2 separate regions of the Homo sapiens genome follow, and region 1 is linked to region 2. The links are contacts of gene promoters, found by promoter capture Hi-C in human tissues and cell types (Jung and others, 2019). All regions are on one chromosome and are shown on one strand. The core of a region is centred on a gene start or on the middle of the fragment in contact, and the rest is flanking DNA. Distances in the headings are between cores, read along the strand shown.

Evidence for each region. The method cuts DNA at HindIII sites, captures the fragments that hold promoters and counts their contacts. A contact is called where the count stands out against the background at its distance.
Region 1: a contact is called between a fragment that was not itself captured here and the fragment with the promoter of AP5Z1 in region 2, in 1 of the 25 tissues and cell types used here (spleen).

The regions. Positions count from the first base shown.
Region 1 is chr7:2,819,346-2,822,045 of GRCh38, reverse strand. All of the region lies in intron 1 of GNA12 (G protein subunit alpha 12), which reads left to right. Among named protein-coding and RNA genes, the nearest start is that of GNA12, 24 kb to the left of the region's middle. RefSeq lists enhancers at 1-349, 350-1,039. The HindIII fragment of the contact is 6,363 bases long and covers 1-2,700 here.
Region 2 is chr7:4,774,313-4,777,012 of GRCh38, reverse strand. AP5Z1 (adaptor related protein complex 5 subunit zeta 1) reads right to left here and starts at 1,390. Exons shown (of 17, transcript NM_014855.3): 1 at 1,257-1,390. The coding sequence starts at 1,297. RefSeq lists enhancers at 712-821, 842-901, 1,242-1,311, 1,742-1,831, 1,872-1,921 and 2 more and a silencer at 1,432-1,561. The HindIII fragment of the contact is 20,755 bases long and covers 1-2,700 here.

The DNA.
Region 1 (2,700 bases), core at 182-2,681, 2.0 Mb after region 2:
TTTACATAGTTCTAGTCATCACATCCTGGAATGTCAGCCTGGGCGGGCATGCGAGGGCCTGGTCTGATTCCCCTGTGTCCCTAGGGCCTGGCACCATGGCAGCACATAGTAGGCATTTGAGTATTTGTTGGATGCATAAATAAATTCTTGTAATAAATACAGGAAAAAGGTCTTAGGGAACTTGAAAGCCAAATTTTAATATTGATGATCTTGTAAACAAAGTATTTTTCATGTTTTAGTAACATGAAGGTCAGGATTCCACTAAGCAGGAATATGGTGTAACCTCATGTTTCCTGGCAACTAGCCCTTTGCTACTAGACTTGCCACAGGAAGGGAAAGAGCTTACCTAGCATTGTTCATCACTGTCTTGCTAAGGTGGAGGAAAACGAGGAGCAGGGAGCTGAGAAAATAGAATAACTGCAGGAGTTTCTCTTGTCCATAGGGCACACCGTTTGGGGTGAATTGTTTTGCTTGGGGCCACCCAGTGAGTTCGTTTGGAGTTGCAAGCCTCGCTTCCTTATATAGAGTCATTGATACAATTGGGGAGTTTCCTGAGTGGATGATTAAAGCAGTTCTGTATTCATTCTTCTCTGTAAGTGCCAACACCTGGCCGTGATTTCTCTGCGGTCAGCTGGAGACTGACATCCATTTTCTCACAGTATTTACGAGGGAAGGGAACCCTGGTTGGTGAATTCATTCTCATGGTCTTTTTGCCCGAGTCAGCAGCAAGACAGTCACCTTGCCACGGGAGGCAGCGTGTCCCTGTGTTGAACAGGCGGAGAGTCTCCCCTCAGGATACAGCAGGAGTGATTGGAATGATTCTGTTTCTCAGCCTGTCTTGCAGAACATCTGTAATCTAAGCGTCATCACAAAAATTCTTAAGCCAAGAATAAGCAGAACATTAACCAGAGAATAATTGATTGGCATCTTTCACCTAGACAACATTTTTGTGAAATGGGAGTGATTCCTGTGGAGTTTTGTCCATGTTGATGAAAACATGGATGTAGGCCGGGCGCGGTGGCTCACGCCTGTAATCCTGGCACTTTGGGAGTCCAAGGCAGGAGGTTTCTTGAAGTCAGCAGTTCAAGACCAGCCTGAGCAACATAGTGAGATCCCATCTCTATCAGAAATTTTTAGAAATTAGCTGGCCATGGTGGTGCATGCCTGTAATCCCAGCTACATGGGAGTCTGAGGCAAGAGGATGGCTTGAGTCCAGGAGCTTGAAAGCTGCAGAGAGCTGTGATTGCACCACTGCATTCCAGCCTGGGTGACAGAGTGAGATCCTGTCTCTAAAGTAAAAAGTTTTAAAAGACACAGTTGGAGTTTCCTCTTTGGAAGATTACAGGGCAGAGGCCAGGGTGGTCAGTGAGTCAGGAGCTGGTGACTGGCCGGTGGGGCAGGTCTGGACAACAAGCAGCTGCCACACTGTGTGTCACTTCCGTGCTCTGTGCTTTACAGCGCTTGGGACTTTCTTTTTCAATTTTTTAGCTTTTTTAATTTTATTTTTTATTTTTTTGTAGCGATAGGTTTTGCATGTCTCCTGGGCTAGTTTCAAGCGATCCTCTCACCTCAGCCTCCCAAAGTGCTGGGATTACAGGCATGAGCCACCATGCCTGGCCTCAGCTTAAAAAAAAAAAAAAAAAAGCTTTATTGAGCTATAACTCACATATCATACCATGCCCTCATTTAAAGCCTACAATTCAGTGGACTTCAGTCTATTTACAGAGCTGTGCAGCCATCACCACAGTCAATTTTTAAAACATTTTCATCACCCCAGAAAGAAACCCTGCAGCCACTGCACATTTTCCTCCTGCCCCAGCCCCAGCCCCGGGCGGCCACCAGCCCACTTTCGACACCGTGGATTTCTCTCGACGCTGTTGATTTGCCTTTTCTGAACATTTTATGTAAATGGAATCATACAGTATGTTGTCTTCTGCGACGGACTTCTTAGCATCGTTTCTTCAAAGTTCATCCATGCTGTAGCGTGGCATCGTCATCCCTCTAAGCGGCCGAATAGCATTCCCTTTTGCTACGCCCCGTTTTGTTTATCCGTGCCTCAGTCAGTGGCATCTAGGTTCTTTCCATCTTTTGTGTGTTATGAATGATGTTGCTATAAACATCCATGTGCGGGTTTTGGTGTGAACATGTTTTCTCTTGGGTGTATTCCTAGGAGTGGAATTGCTGAGTCAAATGGTTGCTTTATGTTTAACATTTTGACGAGCTACCCGAGTGTTTCTGAATTGGCCGCAACATTTCTGTTCCCACCAATATAACGTCTTTGGGGTCTAACCGTGCTTGTGTTTATCTGTCCTTTGAATTCCAGCCATCCCGTTTTCGGTTTGCCTTTCCTCGATGGTGAATGAGGTATAGCATCTTTTCATGTGCTTATGGGCCATTTGCGTATCTTCTTTGGAGATATGGCTATACAGATCCTTTGCCCATTTTTTTAATTTGGATTATTTGTCTTTTATGCAGACTAGGGAATTTCTTAAGGGGACTGCTTTTGGTTATTGTGTTTCTCACTTATAAACTCACCTTTCAGTAATGAGTCACATACACCTCCACAGCTGTTTTGGTTTTCTGTTGCCACTGTAACAAATTACCACAGGCTTCGGGACTTAAAACATTTATTTGTTAGCTCCTAGTTGCTTGGGTCAGAGGTCTGGGCACAGTGTGGCTCAGTTGGTTGCCCTGAGTGTC
Region 2 (2,700 bases), core at 141-2,640:
GACCTCACTCACTATAATCACAGCAATTTCAACCACCCGAATCTTTCCCACCAATTGGTCTAGCTCTGAGTCCAGGTTTGCTTGTTTGTTTTGACATGGAGTCTCGTTCTGTCACCCAGACTGGAGTCCAGTGGTGCGATCTTGGCTCACTGCACCCTCGGCCTCCTGGGTTCATGCACTTCTCCTGCTTCGGCCTCTCACCTCACCAAGTTTGTTTACGTTTACCAAGGGGCTGTAGTGCTGGCTGTATTTTCTTTACTTTTTTTCTTTTTTCTTTTGAGACGGAGTTTCGCTCTGTCCCCCAGCCTGGAGTGCAGTGGCGCCATCTCAGCTCACTGTAACCTCCACCTCACAGGTTCAAGCAATCCTCCTGCCTCAGCCTCCCGAGTAGCTGGGATTACAGTCACCCACCACCACGCCCGGCTAATTTTTTTTTTTTTTTTTTTTTTTGTATTTTCAGTAGAGACGTGGTTTCCTCATGTTGGGCACGCTGGTCTCGAACTCCTGACCTCAGGTGATCCGCCTGCCTTGGCCTCCCAAAGTGGTGGGATTACAGGCGTGAGCCACCACGCCCGGTCAGCATTTTCTTCTTTTAAACATGTAGTATGAAGTCTTTGCCTGTTTGGTGGACCGTGAGTCTGTTCAGTCCTGGCTTACACTGTTTTCCCCCATGACTGGTTAGTTGGTGAGGAAGGAGCTACTCACTCGTTACTGGGAGTCCAGACACAGCCTGAAACCAGCCTGGAGGGTGATTTCTCAGCCTAGCTAATACATCCGCGCAAGAGAGATCTTTTTAAGTCACAAAACCCTCCCACGGTTCCGCAAAGCCCTCGGATGGCCTCCAGCTCCCCAGCCTGGCACACAGCCTTATTCCTTAGCAGGCCTCCGGACACTGTGACTTTGCGTTCTTGACTGTGAGGCACTGAAATCTCCCGGCTGCCCGATTTCCTGCCAGACGCGGAGTTCTCACCGCCAAGCCTTTGACTAAACTGTCGACTGGGTCCCACCCCACTTGCTTTCACTCACCAAGACTCTGCTCAAGTGTCACCTCCTCCGGGGACCCACCATGACCCTCCCCGACCTCCTCACCCCAAGCCTGGCCGCCGTGTTGCCTTACCCGATCCCCAAGTCTCGAGGGCGAGTCCAGTCGGGTTCCTGCAAGGCTGGCGCCCAAGCCCCTGCCCTGTGAGACCCACCCCCGTGTGCCCCTAGGGAGAGATGCAGGAAGGAGGGCCGGGGCCGCAGCTCCCCCGTACCTGGCCTGGTGGAGCAAACTCTCCGCTCCTGCCGAGAACATCACGCCGCCGCCACCAGACGCGCACGAACCTCGGAAACTCCAGGAGCTGCAGCCCAGGAGCTCCGCACCCCGGTCAACTTCCGGGACCGCGTCACGTGAGCGCAGCGGCCTTACGTGGCTGCGTCACGTGCCGCATCACATGAGCAGGAGGGACAGGTTGCCGACCAATGGGCTTTGGCGTGGAGCGACTGGGGCGGGGCGTAGGTGCCGCGGCCGGGGGTCCGGGTCGGCGCCTGGGAGCTGCGGAATCGCGCGACCCCGGAACCTCGGCACTCTGGAGCCCCGGCGCCCTTCGACCCCGGAAAGCATTTCGGCGGAAATTGGGCGCCTGGGGCTTTGGGAGAGGGCATTGCTGGCCCCAAAGTGTCACTGCCCCAGTTCTGGTTTCTGTTTCGTAAACAGCTTTGTCGTGCGGGAGTCCCTTTGCTAAGTACGACCTGAAAATCTGATGCAAACTCCGACACTTGTGGGCTGAGCCCAGCAGTGTCCAGCAGTTTGCAAGGAATAGCCGCGGCTCTGGGCAGTTTTGGGGATTTTTTGAGCTCCCATTTATTGAGCACCCATCCCGCGCTGTTCCTGCTGCTTGAAACGAAAAAATCCCTTATTCAATCCCCACGGTATTCATGGGATCTCGCGATCTCTGTTTTACAGATGAGGCCACAGGCTCGGAGAGGGGAAGTTTCTGTTCATTCTAACGGATGTGTTGGGTGCCCAAATGTGCTGGGCCCTGGCCATAAGTTTGCCATCCTGCAGACGGCCGAGGGACACAGGGCGACACGCCAGCGTCATGATAAACGCTATGACAGCCTGACCTGGTTGGGGGTCCAACCGGAGGAGGAAGGCTTCGGCGACTGCGGCCTAAGATGAGCCCAGAGGGTGTCCAGACCAAGGGGTGGGGAGGGACGGGCCTAGGGTAGCGATCTGCTTCCTATGGCTTAAATGCACCCCAGGAGGAAACTGATCTCTGGCCGCAGGGGAGATAATGGATTGGGAAGCTCCTGAGGGAGAAAGGAGGCTGGTGCAGTTGTGGTCCAGGTAAGGGAGGTTGCCCCGAAAGTAGGCAGATTCAGTACCATTTAGAGGTAGGATTTGCACCACCTGTGATTGAGGAATTTGCAGGCAGGAGGAAGAAAGTGGAAAAATCAAGGGTAACTTCATGTTTGTGGGGTGTCTGTCTGGGGCAGAAAAGGACGAGGAAATTTGTGCCAAGAGTCATTCATTAAGTGGACAAGCGATGATTGAGTCCTAGCTGCGCTAGGCACTGCTGAAGGTTCTGGGGAATAGGGTAGGGGTGGGAATCAATGTTGCGTAGATAGGGTGGGTCAAGGTTAGGCCTTGAAGGGATAAGCCCCGAGAAGACCCCTGGATGGAAGGAAGGAGGAGGAGGAGGGAGGGCTTCCTGC